3 separate regions of the Homo sapiens genome follow, and all the other regions are linked to region 3. The links are contacts of gene promoters, found by promoter capture Hi-C in blood cells and fetal thymus (Javierre and others, 2016). All regions are on one chromosome and are shown on one strand. Each heading gives the region's core, a stretch centred on a gene start or on the middle of the fragment in contact. The rest is flanking DNA. Distances are from core to core; before and after follow the strand shown.

The links. Contacts are between HindIII fragments. The CHiCAGO score rates a contact against its expected background, and 5 or more counts as called.
Region 1: a contact is called between a fragment that was not itself captured here and the fragment with the promoter of CAMKK1 in region 3, in 1 of 17 cell types (megakaryocytes). The highest score is 6.2, in megakaryocytes.
Region 2: a fragment that was not itself captured here is called in contact with the fragment with the promoter of CAMKK1 in region 3 in 4 of 17 cell types (megakaryocytes, erythroblasts, M0 macrophages and 1 more); the score reaches 6.5 in megakaryocytes.

What each region holds. Positions count from the first base shown.
Region 1 is chr17:4,095,882-4,099,027 of GRCh38, reverse strand. It overlaps ZZEF1 (zinc finger ZZ-type and EF-hand domain containing 1), which reads left to right. Exons shown (of 55, transcript NM_015113.4): 10 at 2,328-2,419; 11 at 3,049-3,146. Among named protein-coding and RNA genes, the nearest start is that of ZZEF1, 46 kb to the left of the region's middle. The HindIII fragment of the contact is 2,756 bases long and covers 412-3,146 here.
Region 2 is chr17:4,032,504-4,035,554 of GRCh38, reverse strand. ZZEF1 (zinc finger ZZ-type and EF-hand domain containing 1) reads left to right here. Exons shown (of 55, transcript NM_015113.4): 40 at 1,263-1,540; 41 at 2,553-2,727. Among named protein-coding and RNA genes, the nearest start is that of LINC01975, 57 kb to the right of the region's middle. The HindIII fragment of the contact is 2,526 bases long and covers 311-2,836 here.
Region 3 is chr17:3,891,592-3,894,627 of GRCh38, reverse strand. CAMKK1 (calcium/calmodulin dependent protein kinase kinase 1) reads left to right here and starts at 1,575. Exons shown (of 16, transcript NM_032294.3): 1 at 1,575-1,689. RefSeq lists silencers at 1,129-1,668, 1,699-1,878, 2,019-2,268. The HindIII fragment of the contact is 22,194 bases long and covers 1-3,036 here.

The DNA of each region.
Region 1 (3,146 bases), core at 540-3,039, 200 kb before region 3:
TAAAATTGCTGATTTATCACTTAACTTTTAGACAATAGTTTAGCCTTTACATAGATTTCTTTTACATAGAGACATCCAGGGCTCTGGGAAAAGGTAAGAGTTCAATAATTGGGATAGTTCTTAGTATTACTGTTAGTGGAGTTGTGTGAATTGTTGGTAGTATGGATTCTTAAAATTGCCTATAGAATTGCTCTTTCATAGAACTAGATCATAGAGCGTCTGTGTGAATTAGAGAAGTTTCCTTTGGATTTAATTTTCTTAGTTTTGGTGACTCATTTTGCACATTGTCTTTATAAATTTTTGTTGGCTTGAACTCCATGTAATGAAACAGGAAGCATGAAATTGGTTTTAGTCTTGTCATTTTGATAGGCAGAATTGTTAAGAAAATTCAGAGTCCCAGAAAAAAAAGCTTATTTATTGCTGAGTTATATCATTTAGAGACGTTTGAAAGAGAAAGGCAACCTTGGGTCTAGCAGAAGACTTTTTCATGAGTTGTTAAAGGATAATTACCAACAATCAAAAAAGGAAAATAGTGACTGTCATACAAATATAAGTGAACACATTCATACTTTTAATTTATTTACTTTAATTTATTTATTCATTCATTCATTCATTTGAGACAGGGTCTCACTCTACTGCCCAGACTGGAGTGAAGTGTTGTGATGATAGCTCACTGCAACCTCCACCTCCCAGGCTCAAGCGATCCTCCCACCCTGGCCTCCCAAGTAGCTAGGATTGCAGGTGTGCACCACCGTGCCCAGCTGATTTTTTTTTTTTTTTTTTTTTGAGTTGGAGTCTCACTCTGTCACCCAGGCCGGCTGGAGTGCAATGGTGAGATCTCAGCTTACTGCATCCTCCGCCTCCCGGGTTCAAGCGATTCTCCTGTCTCATCCTCCTGAGTAGCTGGGATTACAGGTGTGTGCCACCACGCCCGGCGAATTTTGTGTTTTTAGTAAAGATGGGGTTTTCACCATGTTGGCCAGGCTCGTCTCGAACTCCTGACCTTAAGTGAACTGCCTGCCTCAGCCTCCCAAAGTGCTGGGATTATAGGTGTGAGCCACCACACCCACCTTGATTTTTGCTTTTTTTTTTTTTTTTTTTGGTAGAAATGGGGTCTCACTGTGCTGCCCAGGCTGGTTTTGAGGCTCAAGTGATCCACTGGCCTCAGCCTCCCAAAGTGCTGGGATTACAGGCATGAGCTACTGTGCCTGGCCCAGACTTTTTATTTAGCTCATTAATTAATGAGGGAACCAGTAAGATGTTACAAACAGTTCTAAGGAGAATTCATAAAATACATGTAGACTAACAAGAATGCTAAAATTAATTTACAAATAGATAGAATGTTGGTCAGTATCCATAAGGAATAATCAGCAACATTTCCACAGAACACAGTGTTTAGTTCTGTGGACAAGAATCATGTGCATCACTACCAGTGTTCTACAACTTACAGAATTGTAAAATAGTTTAGAGACCATAAAAGGCAGAGACGACCGAAAGGGTATGTTGGCTAGGACACCCAGTGATTCTTTTTTTTTTTTTTTTTTTTTTTTCCCATTTCAAAGCCTTTCATAACCTTTCCTGACAAAGTGTTGTAGAAGCTAACTAATCCCTTTCTCAGCCACTAAGCCAGTAGGCTTTATCAGCCCAGGCAGCCATCAGCCATGGTTGTAGGTGTGGCTCAGGAAGATGATTGATTGTCCAGTCTTTTGTCGCTTTGGCTTAAATGTTTTATAAACATTTCTTTTCTTTTTCTTTTTCTTTTTCTTTTTTTTTTTTGAGACGGAGTTTCACTCTGTTGCCCAGGCTGGAGTGCAGTGGCACAATCTCCAAGCTCCGCCTCCCGGGTTCACGCCATTCTCCTGTCTCAGCCTCCCGAGTAGGTGGGACTACAGGCGCCCGCCACCACACCTGGATAATTTTTTGTATTTTTAGTAGAGACGGGGTTTCTCCGTGTTAGCCAGGATGGTCTCCGTCTCCTGATCTCGTGATCCACCCGCCTCGGCCTCCCAAAGTGCTGGGATTACAGACGTGAGCCACTGTGCCCGGCCTAAACATTTATTTTCTTATTGTTACCTCAGAGCAGGGCTGCCTGTGAGGTGGAGGGGATTGTGCCCTGGGAAAGTTGAACCTGGTCAGTTCTCTGCTTACCTGGGGCTTTATCATCGGGGTTGCCTCTGTCCAAAGAGGACATTTTTCTCTAATTTTCGTGAAGATATCAGACCAGTTACCCCCCATGACTCAAAGGATATGGTTTGTTTTTGTTGATCTTAGTTCTTAGGGCTATAAAAATGGGTTAGTTCCCTAACTTGAGTTTTCCCTTTTTTCAGGTTTTCTTACGGAAACTGGAAAAACCAGAGCCAGCACTATTTTTTCTACCGGAACTGAATCTGCCTTCCAAGTTACACAGATAAGAATTATGGTAATTTTCGTGCTACCTTCTTTAAGCAATGTTACTACTTTTGTTTTCAATTTTTATGGGTACATAGTAGGTATATATATTTGTGGGGTACATGAGGTGTTTTGATACAGGCATGCAATGTGAAATAATCATACAGAGGATGAGGATGAGCTATTCATCCCCTCAGGCATTTAGTCTTTGTGTTATAAACAATCCATTACACTGTTGTAGTTACTTTTCCATGTACAATTAGGTTATTATTGAATATTACCTTTTATTACATTTCAGAAGTCCACGTCATTGGTGTTTTGGTTTTTTTTTTTAAAGTCAGACCTATGGCTGACCATGTCATTGGTTATTCATTGAACATTTAATGATGATTTACTCTGTGTCAGGCCTGTAGCAGAGGGCAGGGACACAAAGATGGATAGACTGTAAAGTCTTTGAAATGGTGAGAATATAAGGATTGAGAAAGTTAAGGAACATTTCTTGGGAAACAGCTTTCTTATTTTTTGAGGGCTTAATATGTTTGAAATATTTTTCATTGGTCTCGTTTTGTTTTAACCTGTTTGAATTTAACCATGCTGGAAACAAAACGGCCACAGAACTTTTGCCCCTTTGATAGACTTCATCCTAATCTCTGTTTCCAGGTTCGACGTGGTGGCATTGGTGCCCAGTGTGGGTTGGTGTTTGCCTATAACTCATCTTCAGATAAATTTTGTGCGGAAGAACACTTCAAAAGGTTTGA
Region 2 (3,051 bases), core at 324-2,823, 140 kb before region 3:
CCTGGGCTTGGGTGACTTCCTCAGCCACCTGTGCTCTGACTCCTCTGCCAGACCTTCTCCATGGAAATTCCATACCCTGCTTGGGTTCTGACACCATGTGGCCTCCACCAGACCAACCCCCTGCCTAGATGCCTTCTGAGTTCTTGGACTGTGACACCCCTCCCAGGCTGCCATGTCAGAAAGACGCCTTCTTGAGAATCACTTTTTATTTCCAAGAACTTTTTGTTCTTTGATTGCTTTGTTTTCATACTATGGATATAGTGCCCTCTTGAGTCACACTGAGGATAACAACTCAGACATTGTAAAAGCTTTCTTCGGTTTTGTGCATTTTTTTCCTGTGGAAAATAACAAATGGTATAAGTATAGAAATGTTTGTACCAGGCCGTTTAGCTGAATGGTTTTTATAATAATGAAGAACTGGAAACAAAGTATTAATAAGTTGCAAGACACTATTTAAAGAAAGAAAAACAACTATTTAAAATTTTAAATTTATTTTACATATACATACATACACAAATATATATATATACACACACAGACATGTTGTTTGTTTTTTGAGACGGAGTCTCACTCTGTCACCCAGGCAGGAGTGCAGTTGGCATGACCATGGCTCACTGCAGCCTCCACCTCCTGGGCTCAAGCAATCCTCTCACCTCAGCCTCCCAAGTAGCTGGGACTACAGGCACGTACCACTATGCCTGGCTAATTTTTTGTATTTTTTGTAGATACAGGGTCTCACTATGTTGCCCAGGCTGGTCTTGAACTCCTGGGCTTGAGTGACTCTCCCGCCTTGGCCTCCCAGAGTGCTGGGATTACAGGTGTGAGTCACTATGCCTGGCCTATTTTACATATATCATGTGTAAATAAATATGCATAGAAAAAGGTTGAAAGACTATTCATCACACTTAACAGTTGTTATCTCCTGGCCATGGTTGCAGGGAGGGGATTTAGGGGAGCTTTAACTTTTGCGTGTTTCTGAATTATTTAAATTATTTTACAATGGACATTTTGAAAGGTGAGGGGGAAACCAAGTATTTTAAGTTTCTTTTTCAGGGTAAAGAAATATTAGAAGTAGGATTGTAAGATGAGAGCTGAGGATGTTTATTTTGTAAGTGATTATACATATGGCATTTATGAAAGCTACAAGCATGATTCCGTTAGCACTAGGCCAGCTGTAAATAAGGTAGGAGGGAGATATAATATTTAGCAAGTTTGGTTATGTGGATTTTGTACTGAACAGATTTCTCTCCCTCTCTTGGCAGGGCCCCACGGTTCCCCTGATAGACCTGGAGCACGTCCTTCCACTCATGTTTCAGGTTGTCATCTCAAACGCAGGCCACCTGAATGAAACCTACCATCTCACCCTGGGTCTTCTCGGCCAGTTAATTATCCGTCTTTTGCCAGCAGAGGTAGACGCCGCAGTGATCAAAGTCCTCTCAGCCAAACACAACCTGTTTGCTGCAGGGGACAGTTCCATTGTGCCAGATGGCTGGAAAACCACCCACCTGCTCTTTAGCCTGGGAGCTGTGTGTCTGGACAGGTAGCCTTGGTCCTCGCTCCTCTAACCACCTGCCCTCTATCCCACCTTGGTGTTTATTTGTTTAAGTTGAAGGTCTGGCTGTTGATTAATTTCGGTGTGCTACAGTTGTGTTGTCTGAGAGTTTTGTGGAAATAGAATTAGGTTCATGAGCAATGCTGTCAACCCACATTAAAACTGTGCTTAACACCAACGTTAAAACAGCTGAGCAGTCTCGACACTGGCTGCTGATTCAACTCTCTAATGAGGCATATTCTGTTTTTAATGAGCGGTAAGTGTGGGCCTTGAGGTTGAAGCAAATAAATCTGTTTTCGTTGTAAAAGTAACATAACCACAACACCAAATTTGGAAAACAGAAATGAAGGAATAAGCTGGGCACGGTGGCTCACATCTGTAATCCCAGCACTTTGGGAGGCTGAGGCTGGTGGATCACGAGGTCAGGAGTTCGAGACCAGCCTGGCCAACATAGTGAAACCCTGTCTCTACTAAAAATACAAAGAAAATTAGCCGGACATGGTGGCGTGTGCCTGTAATCCCAGCTACTCCGGAAGCTGAGGCAGGAGAATCACTTGAACTCAGGAGGCGGAGGTTACGGTCAGCAGAGATCGCGCCATTACACCCCAGCCTGGACGACAGAGCAAGACTCCGTCTCAAAAAAATAATAATAATAAAAGAAGGAAAAAAGTCACCCTGACTTGCACCATTTTAATACATCTGGTGCTGTCTCACTACATTTTCTTCTGTGTTTGAATATGAGTGTGCATGTGCACACACACAGGTGATTTTTATAGATATTTTTGGAAACACAGCCGTAGGGTGAGTATGTAAGTAACAAGTCTTGATTTTGTTTGCTCTTTTACTCACCATTATACGAAAAGCATTATTCTGGTAGTTTTTAAGCTAGTTAATGAATGGCTCTTTGAAGGCTTCTGGGTCTGCCTTGGAGTGTAGTGAGCTCTAACGAGTTGAGTTTGGAGCCCTGTGTACTGCCCCTAATGGAGCTCTTGCCTTCCAGCCGGGTGGGCTTGGACTGGGCGTGCTCCATGGCAGAGATCCTGCGGTCACTCAACAGTGCCCCACTGTGGCGTGATGTCATTGCCACCTTCACAGACCACTGCATCAAGCAGCTGCCATTCCAGCTGAAGCACACCAACATCTTCACCCTGCTCGTGCTGGTTGGCTTCCCCCAGGTACCACACTCTGAAGGCCTGAGGGCCTGGTCACCCCTTCCAGTCTTCACTATACACACCAAAGCCTCTGTGGCTTCCGGATATATAGGCATAGATCTCTTTGGAAGCTTTTTCCTTTGCCTGTACACCTTGCTTTTGTAGTATTGAAGTATTGTCAAGATTATGGGATGGTTTATTCAACTTGCATTTTTAACGGTTAAACATTTGATTCATTTATAGCCAGTAGTTGGCTTTGAATAATAGGTGACTGTAATATATCAGATTACAAAGAACTTCAAAGAAAATTGTCTTTCATTTTGGCATTCACCTTGACCTTATTTCTAA
Region 3 (3,036 bases), core at 326-2,825:
GTCCTTGGTTCTTGGTTGGGCATGTGGCTGCCCAGAATGGAAGCTGCATTTCCCAGCTTTCTCTTGCAGCTGGGTCTGGTCATGTTAAGTAAGCTCAAGCGGTGTATGTGAAAGTGCCACGTGGCAACTTCTGGGAACTTTCCTGAAAAGAGAGCTGGTGCAGACCCTCTGCCCTCTTCTTCATCCTTTTCTCCACTCCACTGCCTGGAATGCGTTATGTGATTGCTGGAGCTCTAGCTGGTATCCTGAACCATGAGGTCAAAAGCCACACTCAAGTTGCTGGAATTATTCATTCAACAACATCCACTGAGCACCTGTGCCATGCGACAGGCTGTGTGCTGGACGAATCAGGCACAGTGCTTGCCATCCAGGAGCTCCCAGTCCCAATGAGGAACCAGCAGGTAAACAGATGCCAGGTACAAGGAAGTACCTGGGTGGGGCCACTAACCCATGCTGGAAGTGGGGAGGTCATGGAGAAGGTTTCCAGGCAGAAGTAGGATTGAATTGAACCCTGAAAGACGAGTAGGCGTTAAACAGGCAGGTGGCTGGGAGTAAGGCTATACAGGGCTTGATTAGACCTATTCTCACGGTGAGCCATAGAAAATGCCTCTCGGTGGACTTGTGTTCCTGAAAACTTGCTCTGGGTGCCAGGGAGAGAAAGGCTAGTAGGAGGTGAGACTGGATGGGGCTGGAGGCCAGGGAGGAGGCTGCTGCAGCAATCAGGGACAAGATGGTGGTAGCCTGAGCTAAGGGAGGGGAAGTGGGGTGGAGAGGAGTGGGCCGATTCCAGGGATAGTTAAGAGGCAGTATGGCAGGGCCTGGAGATGGACTGGTTGGAGCAGGAAACAGGGAGGCAGCAGGTGACTCCCAGGCTCCTGGCTCCACTTCGAGACAGGGACGCAGGAGGTTAGATTTGGGGGAAGGATATGGGGCAAGTGGTGGTGCCAGAGGATTCACACGCGGAGGCGTTAGGGGAAGAGGTGGCGGCAGAGTCCCCAGGAACAGCCACAGCGAAGGTCACCTCACTGTCCTGCTGAGTTCCCTCTACTCCCTCGGCCCTCGCTAGGCCATTCCTGTCGCCGGCTCACCGAGCAAGCACTTCACTCTGTGCTAAGCCACCTCTCGGCCTCTCTGCCCCCGCCCCGCAGAAGCTACACTCCTGGGCCTGCCATTCAAGGCCTTCCTCCCCGGGCCTCGCCCCTCCCTCGCACGCACCGCGCCTCGCCCGGGAGGGAGGGGCGCTCTGGCTCCTGCAGGCCGGGATGGGGGCGCAAAGGGTTTGGCGGGGAAGCACGGTCCCCTGCAGGCCCAGGAGAAGGGCCCACGCCGCGGCCGGGAGGGACTTCGGGGACCCCAGGACGCCGGGGGCGTGGCGAGGTCGGCCCCGCCGCAGGGGAGGGAGGGCCCCTACCGCGCCGCCCACCGCGGTCCCTTAGTCCAGGAGGGGGCGGGAGTCCCGGGCTCCGATTGGGCGGCGCTGGCGGGGCCGTTCGCTCCGACCAATGAGCGCCGGCCGGGCGCGGCGGTGGGCGGGGCAGCGAGCGCTGCCCGGAGCCGCGGCGCCCGCGGGCTGAGCTCGGCGATCTGGGCCCCAGCGAGGCGGTGGGGCGGGGCGGGGCGGGGCGGGGCGCGCAGCAGGAGCGAGTGGGGCCGCCCGCCGGGCCGCGGACACTGTCGCCCGGCGCCCAGGTAGGGATCGGCGGGGCGGGGACGCGGGCGAGGAGCAGGAGGACGAACGCCTTAACACCTGCCCCGAGCCTGCAAGGGAGAGGCGGGGGGGGTCTGCCAGGCCGCGTCTACGAGGGAGCTGGGATCTGGTCAGGGCGGGGATCCTTCCCCTTCTGTCTGCGGGGCCGGGTCTGCGGGGTGCCTCGCGGAGTCTGCTCGGGTCTGCGCCGGCCGCCGGGACCGCATCGCCGCGGGTGCCCCGCCGTCTGCGTTCTTCCCCGCTTCTGTCTGCGGACCGCATCCATCCCCGGTGCACTGTCCCCCGCGCCCGGCTCCTGGTGGAGGCCACGTCTGTGCGGAGTGGGCCCGGCCCGGGGCACCCACGTGCGGTTCTCCGCGGAGCGCTCCTCCCACGGCCCGCCGGAGCGTCTTCCTGCAGGAGCCGGGGGCGGGGTGGGAGATGAATGGGGCGGCGGCGGCGCGCGGCTCAGGCTGCGCAGGGTCCTGCCTTGGCTGGGGCGAGAGGGGGCGGCAGAGGCGGGCGCTGCGGCTTCGGGGCCCGGGAGGCGCAGGGCTGGTGGCTGGGGGGGTGTCCACGTGCGCAGGGACCTGCGTGTGCTGTTTGGAGGCGGGTGTGCGTGTGTCACGTGGACGCGGGAGTGTGCCTGTGTCTGCGTGGGGGGTGCAGGACAGGATGGAGTGGTGTGTGAGGGCGGGTCACGCGGACACGGGCGTGTGCCTGTCAGGGGAGGGGGTGTGCTCAAGTCTTGGCGTTGCAGGGCTGTGCAGAGAAGGCTGTGTCACAGGCCACAGGACCGGGCCTTGGTGGTGTCCGCAGGGCGGGCACAGGAGTGTGGGAGGGGCACACAGCCTGTGCGCGCTGGAGGATCCCAGGGAAGTGGCGCTGGCCTCCCCAAGCCCTGCCCTCTTTCCTCCAGTACATACAAATTGACCCCCCACTGCGTCCCAGGCGCACACACTCTGGGGACCCTTCGCCTCTTCCTCGGTCTCCCACCGTCAGTCCTCACAGCAGCCATGGGAGTCGTTTTAAACCTCACCTAACCGAGGCACTCCCCTGCTCACAACCTCCCCCTGGCTTTGGGGGCCTCCTGGGCTCTGTCCACCAAGCTCTCCCCACCCCCAAACCAAGCCCGGAGTCCCAGCCAGGAAATGACTCTCCTATATGCACAGTGCAAACTTCCATCCTCGCCTCATCCTGAAATCCTGCTCAGTGCTCAGAAGAGAGCTCAGGTGCCACCTCCTCTAGGAAGCCATCCCTGAGGCCAGCACAATGAGTGAGGGGGCTTTCTCTCCAGATGTAACTCCTCTTGCTATCAGGTGCCTCTTATGTGGGGAAGACTCCACTCC